2 separate regions of the Homo sapiens genome follow, and region 2 is linked to region 1. Evidence: promoter capture Hi-C in 16 types of primary human blood cells and fetal thymus (Javierre and others, 2016). All regions are on one chromosome and are shown on one strand. The core of a region is centred on a gene start or on the middle of the fragment in contact, and the rest is flanking DNA. Distances in the headings are between cores, read along the strand shown.

The links. Contacts are between HindIII fragments. The CHiCAGO score rates a contact against its expected background, and 5 or more counts as called.
Region 2: a fragment that was not itself captured here is called in contact with the fragment with the promoter of ELMO1-AS1 in region 1 in 1 of 17 cell types (M1 macrophages); the score reaches 5.4 in M1 macrophages.

What each region holds. Positions count from the first base shown.
Region 1 is chr7:36,993,608-36,999,436 of GRCh38, reverse strand. It overlaps ELMO1-AS1 (ELMO1 antisense RNA 1), which reads right to left and starts at 1,641. Exons shown (of 3, transcript NR_104120.1): 1 at 1,505-1,641. The region is part of intron 16 of ELMO1 (engulfment and cell motility 1); the gene reads left to right. The HindIII fragment of the contact is 6,356 bases long and covers 1-5,829 here.
Region 2 is chr7:36,481,784-36,487,399 of GRCh38, reverse strand. No RefSeq gene overlaps it. Among named protein-coding and RNA genes, the nearest start is that of ANLN, 95 kb to the right of the region's middle. The HindIII fragment of the contact is 4,800 bases long and covers 1,332-5,616 here.

The sequences.
Region 1 (5,829 bases), core at 392-2,891:
GTATCCCGGTCTCTTCGTCTAGAGACTGATCGTCATGGAGTTGTTTTGAGGATGAAATGAACCAAGATTAGGTGGAACCACATGAAATGGCCAATATTGGACCACGTCTGAATGGCAAAATTTGTAGTTCTGTTCTGCTCATCTTAATCAATGAAAAGCATTTGGGGCCATTCCCATGAGGGAAATGACACGAAGATCACACAGCACACATGGCGCTCCAGATGAGGCATGGAGAGGCATGGATTCTAGTCCAGCTCTGCCTGTGACCTCCTGCGTGACCCGGGGCTTTTCTCCTATCCTGCACTCACCACCCTCCCTCCTAGACAATGCTGTGGCCCCGGGGATGGCCTCCTTCTGTGCTTTGAATTTCATCCCCTCTCACCTGCTCTGGGGCTCTGTCCGTTATCATTTCTAATCTTTGCATCATTAGTCTCTTCCTCTCACATGCTGTCTTCTCACCAGAATATAAACACACACAAATCTCCCACATTCTTAATAATAAATAAATGATTTTCTCAACCCCCTATTCACCTGTGCCCCTGCAGCTCGGTTTCTGAAGTCATTGCCTCAGTTTCCCAGCTCGCCTTTTCATGTATTAATCCACTGCAGCCTGCCTTCTGCCCACACCGAGAATATAACTGAGCAAAAGAAGAGAAATAGGACTCTAAAAAGCACTAAAATATAGTGTCAGTCCTTGAAAACCTCTTTAGCCACAAAAGTCACTGATTTTGACAAAGAATGGCCTCCGGTGGACAGTTTTAAATCTCAATCTTGTTTGCCACCTTTGTAGCCCTTGACCCTGTGAACCACTCTCTCCTTAAAAATTTTTTTTACTGTGACTTTGGAAATGAACATACATGCAAGATAGATATAGATATACAGATATAGATACAGACATATATATATTTATATATGTATACAATGCACCTAAGATATATGTACAAATGGCACATTGAATATACGTGGAAGAAATAAAATAACTATTATTGTTCCAGTTACTAGCAACATTTTTAGAAAAAAAATTAAAGGATAACTAAAAATATAACTGAGCTCAAGAGAAGAAATACGACTCCAAAGTGCATTAATATATATTTTGAATACTTGAAAACCTCTGTAGCCACAAAAGACATGATTTCTAAGAGGCAAGTGGGAATTGAGAGGAGTCGTTGAGTTGTTCTAAATTTAAGACTGGAAAGAAGTCACATTGTTCTGAATCCCTGCTCTGATGAAGAAGAGAGACATCAAAAAATTTATAAAAATACATCTTTTATCCCTTACACCTTCATGCTATTCGCATCCTCCCCCACCCCCATCTCTTCTCTTCAGCCTAAAAATATACCAAAATCATTCCTTTCCTTAAACAATATTTTCCAACCCTGTTCCTCTTTCAAGTTCTTATCCAATCTCTGTCCGTCTCTGCACTGCCAAATTTTCCGGGAGAGAATGACATCTCCACTTTCCCACCTCCTCACCTCGACGTGGTCTGATGTTCACCCACACCCACCTGCTGCAATTGCTTCATTTAGCTCAAGGTCATCTTCTGATTGTTCTTGTTCATCCTGTTCCCTGGCTCTGAGGCATTGACTTGTGTTGCCTCCTGTGCTTCCTGGGATCCTCTCCATTCCTCATTCCCATGGCACTGACCCCTTTAGCACAGGCATTCCCTGAGGCCCTCCTCTTTTCCTCTCCTACCACTGCCTCCTCCCCACCTTCAACCAGCACCTGAGGCAGACAGAATTCCACCCTCATCGTCTTCTGAGCTCCACCCCTGTGGATGGTCTGCAGACTCCTCAAACTCGGGATGTCCAAAGCTAAACTCTCCATTCTCATGGCTCCGTTCCTGCTGCTGCTTCTGTGGGCTCTAACTCCAGGAGTGACACCACAATCACCCCATATCTTGGACTTGAAATCCAGGAGAGATCTCTGGCTTCCCTACCTTTTCTCTCTAGTAGGTCCCCAAGTCCTACTGATTCACCACTCTATGAGAAGGGCCACCTGCCTTTTAATGCTGTGACTCCACTTTCCTGCACCATTATCTCAGCCCCAGTCTCTGTGCAGGAACACATGCCAGCATGAAAAATCAATTGGCTTTTGTCAGGCCATAAATACCACCAAAAGAAAATCTAAAGGTGTTGTTAAGACAGAAAAAAACAAAATCATTTTCCTTCTCTCCTGGAAATAGCTTAAATTTTTTTTCTGGTCTTAAAAGAAATCATTCCTCTCAAGAATCACTTTCTCCTGTCATAGCTTAGCCACCCTGTGCCTTTCACTTATGGACTCAGTTTGTTCTGTATCCTGCCTTCCCGCCACCATCATCTCTTGTGTAGACGATGTGTTTGTTTTTTAATTGGTCTTCCTAAATCTGGACTTGACCCAAGCCTAAGTTCTCTCTCCCCTAGCTGCCAGAAACACCTTTCTAGGACACAGCTCTTCTCATGAGACATCTGTCTTCAAAAACCTCTGGCTCTCTCTTCTTCCAGCAGGATAGAAAAACTCCACATTCTGTCCTAAACCACTCTTCCAAACAACATGTCTATTACGTCTAGCAGCACACCTCCTACTAACCTATCGTTAGTCATACTGAGTGCCCAGCATGCCTTGCACTTCCCAGTATCTGTCCCTGATTGTGTTCCCTCAGCAAGGAGGAACCTTCACTCTTTCCGGTGAAAAATCTGCCTGTCCTTCAAGGCCCAACTCATGGGCCCTGCAAAGTCCCTCCATGGGGACAGGAGGAATTTTCCCTCTTATGTTCACTTTTCTTCCCCTCTCTTGTAGCACTTAACTTACTCAGCTATATGCTAAGTTCGGAAACTTATTTTAGCCAATTATCTTTGATTTAAATGGGTTCCCATTCATTCTCTGTCCCACCTCATGGCTACCTTGAGGCAATGCTGCAGAATTCCAAAGGCTTGAAAATCATATCTACTCTCTCTGTTTCTTGACTCTACCCCTAAGAACCAGGACTGATTCTCACTCACCTTTCTACCCCAGAGTGCCTACCAAAAAGAAAGAAATATATATGAGCTTAACAAATGTTACTTAAATTGAATTTTTATCCTATTGTTGAAAAAAATAGCTAATAATGTTTATTTTTAAATCAGCTGATAAGGTCTTAAAAGGAAAAAGCACACTCTAGGACAAACTTTGCAATCTACAGAACAAACAGTCTTATGGACTCAGTTTGGCATTGAAGGGCATTGTGTGGCTATGACAGGAAAAAGAGTGATTCTTCTAGTGGCGATTTCTTTTAAGACCAAGATGAAAAAAATTAAGCTATTTCCAAAAGAAAAGGAAAGGGAATATTTTTTTCTGTCTTAAAAACGTCTTTGGATTTTCTTTTGGTGATATTTATTGTCTGACAAAAGCCAATTGATTTTTCATGCTGGAATGTGCTCCCACACAGACAGGGCTGAGATGATGGCAAAGACTTCCCTTCCCAAACCACGCTGGGCTGAGTCTGGAGATCCCTGGCTTCCAGCTGTTTGTGAGGTCAATTACACCCCTCTGCATGGGGAGGAGACAAGGTTCCTTTGGCTCATCATCCTTTGGCTCAATGTTGGAAATTCACCAACATTGATTATCTCATTTGTAGATTATCTCATTTGTATAATACAGCCATTTAGAATCATAGTCATTCAAGGGGGGAAAACAAAGATGTGCATATAGATGTTCATTTCATTGTTACTTACGAGTGAGAAATTGAAAATAGCCCAACTATTCAACAGTGGGGATTGATAAATTAATTTATGGATACATTTATTTATCTGTTAAAATTTTTTTTACTCATTCAGAATGATATTCATGAATAGTATCTAAATATCAGAAACATGTTTTGTAGTATATTAAATGTGAGTAGAGCAGCCTGCAAAATTATATCTCAACTAAATAAAACTACAAACTAAAAAGGATTGAATGATTTTTTTTTTTTTTGAGACAGAGTCTCACTCTGTCACCAGGGTAGAGTGCAGTGGCGTGATCTTGGCTCACTGCAACCTCCACATCCTGGGTTCAAGCGATTCTCCTGCCTCAGCCTCCCAAGTAGCTGGGACTAAAGGTGTGCACCACCATGCCCAGCTAATTTTTGTACTTCTAGTAGAAACGGGGTTTCACAATGTTGGCCAGGATGGTCTTGATCTCCTGACCTCATGATCTGCTCACTGCGGTCTCCCAAAGTGCTGGGATTGCAAGCGTGAGCCACGGCACCCAGCCAGGTTGAATGATTTTAACAATGGCTTCTATGATGTTGGGTTGTGGGTTTGAAAGAAAAATGGTTTCTTCTGCATAGTGTGATTAATTATATTTTTCTTTTTTACTATGTCTTTAATGTTCCCCATCTTTGCTACCTAACATGTATTATCTTACAATCATTTTTTTAAAGAAACACTTTAAATTTTGTGGGTGTGGAACTGGCACCAAGCTCCAGGTGTGGTCTGAGCAGTGGTGTCAGTCTAGGAGGAATTTCTTTATCTTGACATTCCATGTTATAACTTCAGGCTAAGTTTGTTTATTCTTCCTTGAAATAGAGCCTGGGTTTGGGCCAGCTTTGCCAGCCCAGCTAGTGCCCAGCATCTTAGCCTGAAGTTGATTGGTACTGAGATCAAAAGCCCTTCAGGCTTGATTCAAGAAAGACTCATTAACTGGAAGGAAGTTCTAAGCAGATGTGATACACTTAAGAAAGTAAGCCACATTGCAGACAGAGCTGGACCCAGCACCTAGAATGCTTGTAAAATGGATTTCTGAAAGGGGTAGTGTTCAGGAGTGCTTCTACACAGAGCACCCTAGTCCCTCTCAGACTGAGATTGCAGGAGTGGGAGGAGGAAGGAATGGGAGACAACAGGGGATGAGTCATTGAGATGTTTTCAGATATCCTCATCCCCATGGCTGTACCTACGATGCTGGATAGAATGACAGAAGTACTCAGAAGAAGGCTTGTATAACCTCTCTAAGTTTAAGGTTTGCAGTAGGATTTTGTCTTCTTGGCTAAGTTAACAGATACATCTAGAGATGGTATTCCTGGTGTTGTATTAGTAAAACCAGCCCTAGAGGGTTCCCAGTATTGGTGAGAGCTGTGAAAAGAGCTAAGTGTGCAATAGCCATAGCACATATATTGTATGGAAAGAATGCAAAGGAAAAATTACATAGAGGAAGAACTTTATTTAAGGGAGCATCATATGAATAGAAGCTCTCCAGGTGAGCAGAATAGAGTCTGCTTGGAAAAGATATTAAATATAATGAAATTCATGAACAGAAAATGTAATAAATGGAACTTTATTGTTTTCAAGACATTAAGGCTGTATTCTTGGGTTCCCAAGACTTGAAGGAAACACAGGGCGACATGTTAAATTGCATTATCTCAGGCACTTCCTAAATATTACTTGAATAAATGCACCAACTCCTCACTTCCCACTGGGATTTTTTTGTGTGTGAAATATGTTTTCTCAGTGTATGTTCAGAATAGCTGAGAGGTCCAACACAATAGACTCTCACAAAACATAAGCAAGAGCACTTATTCAAGGTTCAGTGTATGTGATTGTTTCAAAGATTTGCTTCGTCGTTCTCATGCTTTTCATTGTGTGGAGAGAATTGTAGGCAATGCATTTTGGAAACCATGTTCTAAATTTAGCTTGAGATGACTTGGTGGGGGTAGGGATACATTTTTCCATTGTATATACATGGATTGGTTATTGCCCTTCAGGGCCAATTTTTATTTTTAATATCAAATTAACTCTTTTCTGCAATTAGTAGCTTCAAGTTGCAGGCAAGTACTGGACAATAAAATAAAATTATATTTTTTTCTAAATTTAATTTCTCCACAAATTATGTTATAGA
Region 2 (5,616 bases), core at 2,482-4,981, 510 kb after region 1:
ATTTGAGCTGTATGGGCAATCTCTTTTTATGTTTTCCCACTTTATGTGACTTTTTAAACTGATTGATTGCATTAGATAAAAGGGCTTCTTCTGGGCCAGGTGTGGTGGCTCATGCCTGTAATCCCAGCACTTTGGGAGGATGAGGCGGGCTGATCACTTGAGGTCAGGAGTTCGAGACCAGCCTGGACAACATTGTGAAACCTTGTCTTTACTAAAAATACAAAAATTTGCCAGGCATGGAGGCACATGCCTGTAATCCCAGCTACTAGGGAGGCTGAGGTTGCAGTGAAACGAGATCACACCACTGCACTCCAGCCTGGGCAACAGAGCGACACCCTGTCTCAAAAAACAAAGGTAGGGGGCTTCTTCTGAGTATGTATATATAAATATATATATATATAAATATATATAAATATATATATAAATATATATAAATATATATATAAATATATATAAATATATATATAAATATATATAAATATATATATATATAAATATATATAAATATATATATATAAATATATATATATATAAATATATAAATATATATATATATAAATATATATATATATGCCCTTTTATCTAATGCAATCAATTATATATATATATAATTAGGTTCCCAACAGTCAATACTTTTAATTTTTTCACTCTTCCTCAGAAAATTTTACATAACATTTAAATGTATTAAATAAATAATAAAGACACAAATATTTTGATTAATCATTCTTCGCCTTCGGCCTAGATATGAAAATCAGGGAGACTGAAAAACTGTGGCAATTGTGGAAATAAACAAAGATTACCCAAAGGAGAACAGAGAAGGACTATTTATTCAGAACTTGCTCTAGCAAGGGAGTCAGCTACTGTCACTCGAATTTGGCAGAGACTCAAAGGCAGGCAGAGGAAGGCTTTATAGCAGGGAAAAAAATGGGGAATGCTCCAGTGTGCCCTGATTAGAGGCTGTTGGCATGGGGAAGCTGGAGGTGGTTAGGAAGAAGCAGGGCATCCTATGTGATTGGTTAGGGAAACATATTTGGCTTTCTCTGGTTGGTCTTAAGTTGGACACGGACAAAAACTATGGAAGCTGTCCATTAGTAATTAAGTGACCTCTCAGGGTTAGGGATCTTGGTTATCCTTCCATCCAGGAAAGAGGCCCACACAGCCCCAGAAGCAGACTCCAGCCATTTGGGTGGGGAATTCTGAGGACCAGATACCTGCACATGGTCCAGAAAGGGAAACGCAGGCCCTGGGTGGTCATGTCCCCTTGGCCTTGCAGAGGAGGTGCAAGGTTGGAGATGGGCTGGAGGAGGGGGGCAGGGAGGCAGTCCAAAGCTTGGAGCCCAAGGGAGGGGCCCTGTTGTCTGAGAAGCCACTGTCCTGAGCCTTTGTAAAAACACGAATCTCCCATGATGCTCTTTTCCACTTCCTAACAGCCTCTTATCTGCAGATCCTGGAGTGAGACTTTGAATTCTCCTTTGGCTAAGAGAGTTGTCTCTCACCACCAAAGGCTTACTCAGGGAAAGAATAAAAATTATTACAGGTAACCCTCCAGGCAGGGTCCAAATTTATATTCTCAGTAATTTTAGCAATAGTCACAAAACTTTATTTACATAAATCCATAACAAAAAGTAAAATTAATGTCCCAATTTCAAATATTCTGTCTCACTGGTAAACCAGTTTTCTGGACTTCTAGTTCCAGGAATATGATCACTGTGTGTGTTTGTATTGGCCATCAGGAATAGGTCTGGGATCTTCTTATGCCTTAAGACAAATGGAGGTTATAAACTATTTATGTTAAAAGAGAGAGGGAGGGAGGGAAGGAAAAAGGGATGGAGTCCTATCCGAGAGTCCTTGGTTATTTACCTTTTATAAATTAATTCCCACTAGCCAGTGTGTCAAGGTCAGCAATGACAATATCTTCCAACCCTGATATGTTCTGCATTTGAAACATGTCAAGAGTCGCTTGAGATGACTTACCTATTTTGTTGTCAAACCTATTGCTTAACTTTTCAGCTATTCTTGCCACTGCTCTGAGACAAACAGTGGAATTCAAGAGTTAGTTTTATGACCAGGCTTAAGAGTTTTTCTAAAACACTTCCAGCCAGTGAGCTCAAAACATTCCTTTTCTTAAAAACAGAATTTATTGTACACAACCTTACTGTGACAGGAGAAAGTGTTAAAATTAAAATTCAGAAGAAGCCCTTTTATCTAATGCAATCAATTAATTGAAAAAGTCACATCAAGTGAGAAAGCAAAATAAGAGATTGCATACACACACAGCTCAAATATTCCTTTTTATTCATCACATGTATTGTAAGCACAGCCCTTTTCTTTAAGCAGGAGTCTGTAGAATGAATTATATAACCTCTTCCTTATGTAAACAAACAATGTGCACTGTCCAGGTCTCTAAAGAGAACTAAATTTAAAGAAACTGATGAAGTAATCTCAGAGCATTGTTCTTCTAGATTTCTACTCTTTTTCCCTTTTGTACTTAATATGGCCGCAGTTTCTTTTTTTTAATTTATTTTTATTTTTTGAGACGGAGTCTCACCCTGTCACCCAGGCTGGAGTGCAGTGGCGCAACCTCAGCTCGCTGCAACCTCCACCTCCCGGGTTCAAGCGATTCTCCTGCCTCAGCCTCCCGAGTAGCTGAGACTACAAGTGCGTGCCACAACACCCAGCTAATTTTTGTATTTTTAGTAGAGATGGGGTTTCACCAGGATGGTCTCGATCTCTTGAACTCATGATCTGCCCGCCTTGGCCTCCCAAAGTGCTGAGATTACAGGCGTGAGCCACTGCGCTCGGCAGTTAATCTTTATAGAATCTCTGAGTTATTGTTTAAAAATTTCATTTTCACACTTTCAGTTTATATAATGTTTAACTATGACATTTACAGTATGTCATTTACAACTGGTACGATCACGTTTGGGAGCAAACACTATTGACTCTTCTGACATTTGCTTGTAGAAACAGAAATGCACACACCTGTTAGGGAGCATTCCACTAGCCTCTGATGGTTACCAAAGAATTTTACCAAGGGAATGAGCAAATTAATATAGTGATATAGTTAAGTGGGACTTACAGTCTATTTATGATGAATGCATATGTCCACGCATGCGTTCACATGCACACACACACACACACACACACACACACACACACACACACACTCCCTGACTTCTCAGGAATGTGCATCTTGAGGGAGATCCTTTAGTTTTGTTGAGAAGGGATGTTAACAACGATGCAAATGAATGAAGCCAGGAAGGATAGAGTGGAACTGGACCAAGATGGAACTGGACCAAGATGCCAGACTAGAAGCAGCTCATGTGCACCACTCTCACAGAAAGGAAACAAAAGGGCTAGTGAACACTGACCCTGCAGGCCAGTCATCTGAAAAACTACACTGTGGTCGGGTGCAGTGGCTCATGACTATAATCCCAGCACTTTGGGAGGCCGAGGTGGGCAGATTGCCTGAGGTCAGGAGTTTGAGACCAACCTGGCTAACATGGTGAAACCCCGTCTCTACTGAAAATACAAAAATTAGCTGGGCTTGGGTGGCACATGCCTGTAGTCCCAGCTACTCGGGAGGCTGAGGCAGGAGAATTGCTTCAACCCATGAGGCAGAGGTTGCAGTGAGCCAAGATGGTGCCACTGCACTCCAGCCTGCACAACAAAGCAAGACTCCATCTAAACACACACACACACACACACACACACACACACACACACACACACACATTGGGATCCATCAAGGTAGCCAAGAAACATAGAGAGCAGAACTGGGCACCAGCCTGTCTGGGCTCAGTGCAGAGCCAGGAGAATCTCTCCAATACCAGAAAGGATGAGTGAGTGAGAGCCCCCTGAGGGATTCACACTTTCCACGAGGACCTGTGCAAAACTGAGAATGGGAGAATTCTCCTGGCCTTCCCACACCCCCCACTGCACTTCAAGACTAAGGCAGAGAACCACCTGGACATTTCGCAGGGGCAACTCTTGAGTCCAAGGGGACCTCTCCAGGCCTGAGACCCCAGAGCAGACCAGTACCAGTGCCATAGCCTCAATAGAGACCACAGTCATGGTGCCTGGGAGCAGTAAGATTGCTCTACCTGCCCCTCGCCAGATGGAGCTTGGCACCAGCTTCTGGCCCAACAGTCCCACTTCTGTGCAAACTCAGCTGACAGCTACAGCCTCCTGTTATCCTGGGAATCACCTGGATGACAGGGTAGGCAACCTTACCCACCCCTACCACTGATAGCCAGGTAAGCAATGCCTGCTAGAGCTTCCAGCCCAGCAGTCCGACTTCTGTCTGAATTCAGCCAGCAGGTGCAGCCTCCCACTGTCCTGGGAAATGCCCAAGTGGCAGGATGGGTGACCCCACCCACCCCCTGGCTGCTGGTAGCCAGGTGGGCAACACCTGCTAGAATTTCCAGCCCAGTGGTCCCACTTCTGTCTGAACTTAGCTGGCAGATACAGCCTCCTGTCGTCCTAGGAAGAACACCCAAATGGCAGAGTAGGTGACTCCACCCATCCCTGCCTCTCATAGCCAGGCCAGCCAGGCCTGCTAGAGCTTCAAGCCCAGTAGTCCTGCTTCTGCCTGAACTCTGTGGGCAGGCACAACCCTGTCTTCTCCCAGCCAGAAAGCACTCAGACAGCAAATTAAGGCCAACCCAGAAAGCATACAGCCAGCTGGCCAACTGTGGCCCCTGCCTGAGGGAGCCCCATGTACCAGAACACCCAACAACAAAACGTGGATATAGAGACAGTAATCAGAAGGGGCTCCTCCAAGATCCAAGAGTGGACTAGAATCAAAGCAAGTTGACTAAACCCACCTTATACCATAATCAAACCCCCAAGGGCATCAAAGGAGATAAAAGAAAAAAAACACACATAAAGACAGCAACTTCAAAGATTAAAGGAACATCACCCCACACGGATGAGAAAGAACCAGTGCAAGAAGTCTGGCAACTCAAAAAGCCAGAGTTCTTTTTGTTTCCAAATAACAACACTAGTTCCCCAGCAATGGTTCTTAACCAGGCTGAAATGGCTGAAATGCCAGAAATAGAATTCAGAATATAGATAGAAATGAAAATCATCAACATTCAGGAGAAAGTCAAAACCCAATCCAAGGACTGTGAGAAATACAGGAAGACAATACAGGAGATAAAAGACAAAATGGCTATTTTAAGAAAGAACCAAACTGAACTGATAGAGCTGAAAAACTCACTTCAAGGACTTCATAACAGAATCACAAGTATTAACAGCAGAATCGACCAAGCTGAGGAAAGAATCTCAGAGCTGGCTGGGCATGGTGGCTCATACCATAATTCCAGCACTTTGGGAGGCCAAGGCTGGTGGGCTGGTTGAATCCAGGAGTTTGAGACCGGACTGAGCAACATGGTGAAACCCCGTCTCTACTAAACATACAAAAATTAGCTGGGCATGGTGGCATGCACCTATAATTCCAGCTACTCAGAAGGCTGAGATACAACCCTTGCTTGAACCCAGGAGACAGAGTTGCAGTGAGCTGAGATTGTGCCGCTGTCCTCCAGCCTGGGCTACAGAGTGAGACTTTGTCTCAAAAAAAAAAAAAAAAAAAAAAAAAAAAAATCTTGAAATCTC